Linked DNA regions of Homo sapiens: region 2 is linked to region 1. Evidence: promoter capture Hi-C in 16 types of primary human blood cells and fetal thymus (Javierre and others, 2016). All regions are on one chromosome and are shown on one strand. Each heading gives the region's core, a stretch centred on a gene start or on the middle of the fragment in contact. The rest is flanking DNA. Distances are from core to core; before and after follow the strand shown. Region 1 holds the start of MAL (mal, T cell differentiation protein (MAL blood group)). Region 2 has its middle 33 kb from the start of MAL-AS1.

The links. The method cuts DNA at HindIII sites, captures the fragments that hold promoters and counts their contacts. A CHiCAGO score of 5 or more calls a contact.
Region 2: a contact is called between a fragment that was not itself captured here and the fragment with the promoter of MAL in region 1, in 1 of 17 cell types (fetal thymus). The highest score is 5.8, in fetal thymus.

What each region holds. Positions count from the first base shown.
Region 1 is chr2:95,023,351-95,028,243 of GRCh38, forward strand. MAL (mal, T cell differentiation protein (MAL blood group)) reads left to right here and starts at 2,358. Exons shown (of 4, transcript NM_002371.4): 1 at 2,358-2,535. The coding sequence starts at 2,443. It overlaps MAL-AS1 (MAL antisense RNA 1), which reads right to left and starts at 3,679. Exons shown (of 8, transcript XR_007087136.1): 1 at 3,209-3,679; 2 at 2,990-3,083; 3 at 845-907. RefSeq lists a silencer at 2,258-2,387 and an enhancer at 2,742-3,465. The HindIII fragment of the contact is 7,953 bases long and covers 1-4,893 here.
Region 2 is chr2:95,057,547-95,062,345 of GRCh38, forward strand. No RefSeq gene overlaps it. Among named protein-coding and RNA genes, the nearest start is that of MAL-AS1, 33 kb to the left of the region's middle. The HindIII fragment of the contact is 5,597 bases long and covers 1-4,735 here.

The sequences.
Region 1 (4,893 bases), core at 1,108-3,607:
ATGAAGACAGGCCCATCTTTACTTACCAATGCCTCTCTCTTACCAATGTCTCTCTCTCTCACCAATGCCTCTGTTTTACAAATGCCTCCTCTCACCAACGCCTCTCTCTCTCTCTCTCACACACCAGTGCCTCTCTCTCACCAGTGCCTCTCTCTGTCTCACCAACGCCTCTCTCTCACCAATGCCTCTCTATTTACCAATGTCTCTCTATTACCAGTGCCTCACTCCTCACCAGTGCTTCTTACATCCAAACAGGGCACTTCCATGTCCTCCTCTGGTGGTCAAGCACAGACAAAGCTGGAGTCATCCACCATTGGCTAAGGTTTAATGAGCACTCACCAGAGGCTGGGCTCTGCTTGGGTGCTGAGCATATGCTAGGGTGGGGAAGGAGAGGGGCAGATGGGGGTGGCTGGAGGATGCCCTGCCGAGGGTAGAGTCTGGTCAGGAAGATGAACGTCGAGCGGAGAACTCCAGGTGGGAGGAGGGGGTCACAGAGATAGGGACAAACCCCCTTGACCCTGGCCGGGCTGCCTTCCTCATCCTCTGAAGCCTCTTTCAGAGATTGCTGCCCCTCTGCCTTATCAAAGGAGGGCTGGGACTGCTGAGCTCCACTGAGTTGCCCCTGGGAGCGAGCTTTCCCCAAAGGCTCAGGCCCAAGTAGGAATGAGTTAGCAACAAAGGCTTGAAATAAGTAGGAAATCACCAAACCAAACCACAAACAAAAGCCCTCCAGGCCAGGTAAGGACATTATTAGGAGTTGATAGGATCTTCTTGTTCTTAATTAGTATGTGCTGATAGGAAATCTCCAAGCAGCTTTCGCTGGACTGCCTGAGGGTCATCTCACCTCTCTTCAGGCTGCGGCTTCCTGTGGCCACCTTGCTTTAAGGCTTGTTCCCAGGACGGTCTCCTGGGGAGGAAGAAGATGTCCTCTCAGAGGCCAGCAGGTCCAACTAACGAGCTATGAGATGCCCAAGGTGGATGAGGACCTGGGCTCCTAAAGTCCCACAGCCCATTGTGTCCAGAGAGATGCTGCCCTGGGGACCCGACACAATGGCACCTTGGTTGCAGCCGTCCGGGCTGGCAGCTCACAGAGGCACAGTGGGGTTTTCTCATTTCAAATGCCTGGCCCCTTTCCAGAGGCACTTAGAATGGCCAGCTGATGGGCGTGCTACTTTTGCTTTGGAAAATGCGTCCACGAATATACTTCTCTCCCTAGGGACTGGGAAGGAGGAAGAATTGTGCAGCAGGGAGAGGTGAAGGCCCCACTGGAGAGAAGGGGAGCCCCTTGTCCTGCCTGCAGCAGCTGCCAATGGAAAGAAAGAAGAGTTGGGAGTCTAAGCTGGAGGTTGCGGGGCCAATTCCCTTTTGGCAGGCGAGAATCCGGACTCGGGCGGATTTCAGGCTTCAGTGTTTGTAGGAGGAAACACAGCAATCACACTATTAATAGTAAATTAAAATAAATGGGCAACTGCTGCATGGTAATACTTTTTTTTTTAAGGCAAAAAATAAAAAATAGTGAAACAGAGAAACAAAACATGAAACACCGGCAGTCAACAGGCAGGCAAAGAACCTGGGGGTGGGGGTAGCAGCGGTCCCACCCTCAAAAGGCCCGGGCTGCCCAGACCAAGAGAAAGCGATGAATCTCTTCTGGTAACGTCCCTTCCTGTCGCATGGATTCAAGGCCGACCTGCCCCAGCACCACCACCAGCAGCCTTCTGCTGGGGCCGGCACAGCTGGGAGCAACCTCCTACTCTCAGGCAGACGCGCAGCACCAAGCAGAGAGGCCCGGTGCAGGATCCCAGCGCCGAACCAGCGCCGGCTCAGTGGACGCGGAAGGGGCCGGCGGCCGCGGCCGGTCCCATCCCCCACTGCAGACCCCCAGCCTGTGGCGGTGGTCCAGTTCCGCCAGGAAACCGCCGCCTGGAGCTGTGGGTCGCGCACATTAACGCATCCAGCGGAAAAATGAAGGAGACCCAAATTCAAAGTTAAAGTAATGGTGACCCGAGAGGTGCCTTGATGAGAAGGTTTGGGGTCCCGGTTACTGATGGTTATCATTCTTACGAGATGCTGGTCACCTACGAAGGGAGAAAGGCACGAGGAGCGCCTGACCAAAGTGGTTTTGCCCTGCTTCCCGCAAGAGGTGGCACCCACGGCTGGAACGCAGGAGTCAGACCCACAGTCCCCAGCTCTGGACGCCCGCAGCGGGGCCTCGAAGAGGTTCAGGGCGGTGCCCGCGGCGCTCGGGCCGGGTCTCCCGGGGCGTGGGGCGGGGGGCGGGGTTGGGCGGCGGCCGGGGCTCCTCCCTCTTCTGCCCCGGGCTCCCCTGCTCTTAACCCGCGCGCGGGGGCGCCCAGGCCACTGGGCTCCGCGGAGCCAGCGAGAGGTCTGCGCGGAGTCTGAGCGGCGCTCGTCCCGTCCCAAGGCCGACGCCAGCACGCCGTCATGGCCCCCGCAGCGGCGACGGGGGGCAGCACCCTGCCCAGTGGCTTCTCGGTCTTCACCACCTTGCCCGACTTGCTCTTCATCTTTGAGTTTGTGAGTGGCTCCTGGCCGGGGAAGGGACGGGGTGGGCTGAGCCGTGCGCTCTCTCGGGCGCCCAGCACAGCTGTCGGACGGGATCCGCTAGCTGCGCAGGTTCTGGGAGCATCGGGGCAGCAGGCGCAGGGCGGGGACTAAGCCAGGGAAGTCCCCTCCCACCTCCGGTCCTTTGTGCCCTTCTAGACCAACAGAATGAGGGGAACAGTCTACAGGACTATGGAGGAAAAACTGGGTTCCCAACTGGGGTCAGATGTAGGCAGCGGGGCAGGGGGGGACGGCTCTTGGTTCGCTGGTCCCAAAGCTGCGCGCGGGGCCCACTTGACGCGCGCAGCGCCACCGAAGCTCCCGCCGCGCTTTGCGCGGTTGGGTAGAAGTGCGCAGCTTTTACAAGGGAGAAGGTTTCGTTAAAAAAGAAAAAAAAATCAGCAAGAGAAACATTAGTATTACCAACCGAGATTTGGAGATGAGAGGGAGCTGAATCCGGTTTATTTTCTTCTGGCCTTTTAAAGTTTCTGGCGAGGGAACGTATTTGCGACCAATTCGATCTGGAAATGAGGCCATCGTTTGCTTGGCCGCAGTCCTTCTGCCCCGTGTGCGGGGTGGGGGTGGAGGAGATGGGGGGTGGGGGGTGGGGGGTGGCGGCGAGAGCGATCCGCGCGCCTCGACTGACCTTGGGCAGGCCCGGGGCCTCTGCACCTGCGGTCGGTCCCGCCTTGCACGCACGGTCTCTGCCTGAGGCTGCAGGAAAGCGCTTCCTACTGAGAACTCCTGATAAGCGCTCACGGTGTCGCGAAGCCGAAGTGACCTCCCTCAGCCTCAACTCCCCGGGGGCCGCTGGCCTTCACCTGGGAGGGGTGTGCCCTGTATGTCCTGTGGGTGCGGTCCGTCACCGCCTGAGGGACACCTTTTCCGGCACCCCACCCTCAGAAGTGTCAGCGTGGAGAGTTGGGCGGGAAAGAAAATGTCGGAGCCTGGCTGTTTAAAAATTGGACCCCAGGTTGTTATTGCCTGATTGGAGGGGGAGGGTGTGAATACCAAAGGGAGCAGGTCAGTTCATCCAAAGAGGGCTTGCGGGCAGAGGCTAAGAGGGCTGCGGCGGCCTGGGAGCAGGGCTACCATTGAACTTAGGGTGAAAGTCCAGTCGAACCCAAACCTGGGTGGAACCGGTGACTTGAAATCCTAGGGATAGGCGGAATCAAAGCAGTTACATTTAGAAGAAACCCTGGACGCCAATGAACGCAGCCCCACCGTTTACAGAGAGCCAGCCCCCCGCTGGCCTCCTTTTAGAAGTTCAGCATACAAGAAGGAGTGCCCCTGAGAGTAGGAACAGTCCAGTTAGACGGGGCGATCTGATCTGCGGGAAAGGTGACCGGAGACTCCCACCCAACCCGCCAATGCTGCAGAAATTACAGGGGCGTGGGAAACCTTGGAACCATCTACTACTGGCAGCTTGCTCTTCCAGCGTGGCTTTGTGGCCTGCCGGTAGCGGGGCTTCCAGAAGAAACAACTCCCCCTCGCCCAGAACGCTTCTCTCAGCTGACTTAGAAAGTCACTTCTCCACCTCACCCCTGTTCCCCACCTCCCTTCCTCACTTCCCAGGAGACCCGCAATGCATAGTCATCTCCAGGCATCTTCCACATGCTCTAGATTAGGGGTGGGCTCGCAGGTGCCTGGGAGAGAAGAGGAGAAAGCTGACCCCAAGCCTCTCAGTTCTCCTCTGCATGGACTGTAAATACGAAGCTGTATATATTTGATGTGTGGAAGGAGTGGAGAATTAAAGGGCCTGAGAAGGCGCTGGCCACCCCGGGAGAGTTTTTGTTTTTGTTTTTGTTTTTGCTTTTGAGACGGAGTCTCGCTCTGTCGCCCAGGCTGGAGTGCAGTGGCGCGATCTTGGCTCACTGCAGGCTCCGCCTCCCGGGTTCACGCCATTCTCCTGCCTCAGCCTCCCAGCTACTCGAGAGGTTTTTTTAATTATGGAATATTACAACTCGACAACAAAAAGACAACCCAATTAGAAAATGGACAATGGACTTGAACAGAGGTTTCTACAAAGAAGATACACAAATGGCCAATATGCACATAAAAAGATGCTTAACATCATCAGGCATTAGGAAAACTAAATTGAAACCACAATGAGGCCAGTTGCGGTGACTCACGCCTGTAATCCCAGCACTTTGGGAGGCTGAGGTGGGTGGATCACCTGAGGTCAGGAGTTCGAGACCAGACTGACCAACATGGTGAAACCCCATCTCTACTAAAAATACAAAAAAAAAAAAAAAAAAAAAAAACCCGGCTTGGGTGGCTCATGCCTGTAGTCCCAGCTACTCAGCAGGCTAAGGCATGAGCATCGCTTGA
Region 2 (4,799 bases), core at 687-3,186, 34 kb after region 1:
TGTAGGACTATTTTTGCAAAGCAGCCCAAATGGAGGATTGAAGGCTGCCTTACGCTGACCTTAAAGAGACAGCAAAGGGTTTGCGCTGCCAGCCGTGGGCTGGAGCGAGCCTGCCTTCGGGGCCCACACAAGGGCCTGTTGTTCTGGGTATCAACTGGGGCCGGTGTGGGGTTACAAAGAGGCCTTTCAAAGAGACAAAGCGCCTCTGGACAGGCTGAGTGTCCCTGCACACGTGGGCATCCGCCCAGGGCATTTAAAATAACGCGATTTGAAAAAACAGATTTGAAGTGATTTTTCCTACTCCGCGTTATTCAGTGGCCTTTGTTCTGTCTGCATCATACCCGGCGACAGCAGCTTCTAAGAGCTGGGGCGCTGGAGCAGACACGGGGGTTCCTAGCTGTGGCTGCTCTCTTCCTTCACAGGTAACGAGATCATCACACTGCCAGGCTCTCTAGAGGGTACCAGAGAGGTTGGATTCACACGGGGTGCTCGGCTGCCAGGACTTCCTTCAGCTGGAGGCAGGCACCCATGACATACGGCGTGAGATGACTTCCCAGCGCCGCTGGGTGCCAGGTGCTGCTTGAAGTGCTTTACTTCTTCACTTAATCCTGTGACGACCTTATGTGGTAGATACAATTTAGATGAGGACTCTGAGGCACAGAGAGGTTAAGTGACTTACCCAAGGTCACACAGCAAGTAGGCATGGATCCTGATTCCAGCAGAGTGGCTCCCGGGCCCCTGAGGCTAACCGTCATGCTTCATGTCTCACTGTGACAGGGTCCTTGTCTCTCTGGGAGCAGGGGGCACATGCTAAGATGTCCTTCATACTCACAATGCTGACTTTACCAATACTGAAAACTCCAAATGGCACTTGAGGAGTGTCAGGAAAACCTAGCCAGGAGCCCAACCTGCTGCGGAGGGATGTCTGAGATGAGGGAGACTTTGCCATACAAAGAAGTCGGAAAGGGCTTCCCTGGGCAGAGCAAGGGTGATCTGGGCCAGGTGTGTGTCGAAGGCTGGGGGGTGAGGGGGTGTCTTAGGAGGTTACGAGGGCCTGGGCTGGTCCTGGAGGCAGAGCTGAGCTTGGCTTTCACCCAAGGGGCAAGCCCTGTGGGGGTATCTCTTGGGCAGTGGCAGCCATCCAGCCGAGAGATGCTGTGGGTGTGAGCGGGCAGGCTGGACCAGGGAGATAGGAGAGATGTGGCCAGATCTTGGTGAGCTGAGAGCAGCCAAAGGGAGTGGCCGAGGGCATGGATCCCTGAGCCAGCCCAAGTGTGTGGTCCCTCTCAGCCTCAGCTTCCTGTCTGCAGAATGGGAATATTAATTCTGCCTCACAGGCAGCTGGGAGGATTTGAGGACTCGGTTCAGATAAGTCCCTGGGACCAAGGACATCTCAGGAAGTACCGGCCGCTGTTATCATTGTGGGAATGAAGAAAAAGAAGGTCTAGAATGATCCTGAACTTTCCAGCCTGGGCAGACGATGGCTATTCACATTATGCTTATTCATTAACCATGTTGTTGGCATTCTGTCATGAACTTGGGCTGGTACTTTTGCTTTTTCCCATAGAACTGAACGTTTAATCAGCCATGACATAGTTTAAAACAGTCCCACTTAGGAAACCAAGCTCCAGTGCTTTGGGGAGAGGCCATTCCTGCCACAGCCCCTGACACTGAGGGAGGAGCTCCCAGAGGGCCTGAGAGGGTCACAGTCACTGGGCGGGCCTCTTCTCTCCCTCGCCCAGGGCATGAGCAGCCAAGCCAGAGAAGCCTCAGCCACCGGCACAGCAGCACCGGGAGAAGCCCAGGAATTTACAGATGAAGAGCCCAGGTCCCAGGAGGGTGGGAGTCTGGCCCAGGGCACCAGACAAGTCAGCGCCAGGGTGGCCTCGGCCCCGCCTCCCAGGCTCCCTCCCCTGTGAGCCCCTGCTGCCCACCTCTCCTATGGTACCTCACTGCTTCCCACACTGAGGCAGAGGGAGAGACGGGGGCTGGTGAGAGCAAGGAGTAACCCACGATAAAGACAGGGCAAGGGGGCAAAAAGGGGCTGGGGAGGCTCACTGAAGGCAACTTCCAGGTCTATTGCCCACTGGGAGTCTGGCCCCGTGGCCTCCACTTTCTAGGGTGAGAGCTGGTGACACCTGTGGATCATGCAGGACAGACCTCCACCGGTGGCTGGAATGAGGGGCACGGCTGCCCCTCACATCATGCACCCATCACCCAGCACAGTCCAGGTGTGTTGTACCATGGGTGTTAGGTGGCACGATGGTGGTGATGAGGATGTAATCCACTGGCTTAAACCCTGCCCAGCTCACATACTCCCTCCTCCAGGGCGCTACACCTGTCCCACTCCTGCTTCTGGGCATCCTGGCTCCCCACACCCCACCTGCTGTCCTTAAGCCTGCAAGCCCCCACCCTCCAGACCCCACTCCCGATACTCCACTGCCTCCCAGACACCATGGCTGGGTCTCAGCTGATGCTCACCCATAGCCACCCTCAACAGGCTAGGAGGACTGAGAGGCCCCACGCAGCCCCCCAGGACAGCTGTTGGCCGAGGGAAGAGGAAGAGAATTGACCCTGAGGGCCCCACCCATGGTTCATCCCTGCCACCAAGCCAGGAGACGGTGGCCCGCAGGGGAAGTGCAGGTGGAAGGACAGCATATTTTCATGGACTACTCACTTCTACAATCGGGGCTGGGGCCTCCAATCTAGGCCCGTGCCCCATCTTGGACAAACAATGACAGGAATGTGCACCGAGATGGTGTGCCCAGCCAAGCCAGCCTGGGTGGCCAGATGCTGGGATAGGGCCTGCCCTGCCCTTCACCCTACTTTCTGAGGTGGGCAGTTTTCTGGCTCTGGTGCTGACAGGCGAAGGCTAAAGATACCCAGTTCTCTGGTGGCTGTCCCCACAGAGTACACTCTCGGACACTGGCACTGTCCCTGCTGGAATGGAAGGGGCAGGGTTTCTGGCCTCACTTGGCAGGAAGGTGGGTAGAAAGAGGTTAAGGAGGGACAGAGAAAGCTGGCCACATGGTCAGTCTCGTGCCCCATCCCACTCGCTCCATCTGCTGAATGTCGTTACCTCCTGTATCAAACATGAGGCCCCACAGCGGCCGGTGTGCATTCTCCATATAAGTGGAACTAAGAGCTCCGCACGTGTTCTCCACTGTCACCTCAAGACAATCCTCCTAGGGAGATGCTACGATCATTTCCACCATGCAGATGAGGAAGCAGGTTCTCTGAGGCTGAATCGTGCCTGGCTAATGCCACACACAGATGAAGCCAGGCAGAGGCATCACGTAGACTTCTGCATCCTCAGTGTTCCCTGTCTCCCTGTGAGTCTGTCTTCCCTTGAGCACTCTTCCCACCCTAGCCCTGTACGCAGACTGCGCTGGATGCACGCTCTCCGCTGTCCCGGCTTCCCTCTGAGGCTTAAAAGGGCTATTGTTCCCAACGATGCCTGCACTTTGGCCAGGGAACCTCTGGTGCATGGGGCACCAGAATGGGGAGTATTTGGGGATTTGGAAAGAAAAAACTAATGTTTTACAGTAAAACTTACTGGTGGGGTGCAGTGGCTCTTGCCTGTAATCCCAGTACTTTGGTGGGAGCTTCGCTTGAGGTTAGGAGTTTGAGACCAGCCTGGGCAACACAGGGAGACCCTGCTTCTACAAAAAAAAAATTAATTATCTGAGCATGGTGGTGTGCATCTGTGTTTCCAGCTATTCAGGAGGCTGAGGTGGGAGGATCTCCTGAGGCCAGAAGGTTGAGACTGCAGTGAGCTATGATTGGGCCACTGCACTCCAGCCTGGGCAACAGAGCAAGATCCTGTCTCCAAACAAAAAAGAAAAAAAAGTGTTTACTTTACACCCCAAACAGGAATGGTGCTATCTTTTGACCTAACAGGACTCAGATGAGACTTTAGTAAAGAAGACAGTTGCCTGATCCTGTTTTGCTTTCTGTATTGTTTCAGGGGAATAGAATGCAAGCATTTCCCAGTCCAGACAGGCAGGTCCCCTGGCCCCAACAGTGGCCTGGTCCTGACATAGGGTCCAGGTTTGGGAAGAGGCTGGCTGTTCAGGTCTGTTCACTCCTTCCTGCTCTGAAGCCTGTCTTGCTGAGCATGTGCTTCCCGCAGGGGTGAGAGGACAAACCCAGAGGAGCAGCCCCTCCACCCAGTGTTTGAGGAGCTGTAAGCAAGCCCCAGCAGACTCAAGCAAGCTCCAGTCGAGTTAATTCCCAGACAACTGTGAGAGAGAACAGGCTGCAGAGGCCATCTGAGGTCTGCAGCGAGTGGTTGGGGACAGAGAGAGGTGCAAGGGACAGGCATGGATGAAAGCGCCCCTTCCTTGGGCACCAGCACACTGACAGCTGTGGTTCTGGTGTGCGGCCTTGGCTCCGTGGGGCCTCCACATCCACACACAGACCCTTGTGAGGTGCAAAGCCGTGGTCCAGCCACCTGCCCAGACAGTGGGTGCCAGGGAGCCTTCCTTCCTCCCCAGCCACGGAGACACAGCCCTCTCCCTTCCTGCCCTCCTACCCGGGGTGCTGAGAACAGTCTGTGTCTTCACAGAATCGGTGCACCCTTGCCTCCTACCCAAGCAGGGCCTCAGTCAGCGACTGAAGCATCCTGTGGAACTCACTCAATCCTCAAGCCCCTATTGGTCACTCCTTTGGCACAAGGAGTAACTTCACCTCCTACTTCTAAAAATAGAAATTTTTTAGTTAAAAAAAAAAAAGAAGCTTCCCTATTAGAGGAAGGGACCCTTCCTGGACCCCTTCTTCCTGCCCATCCCTCCCTCTCT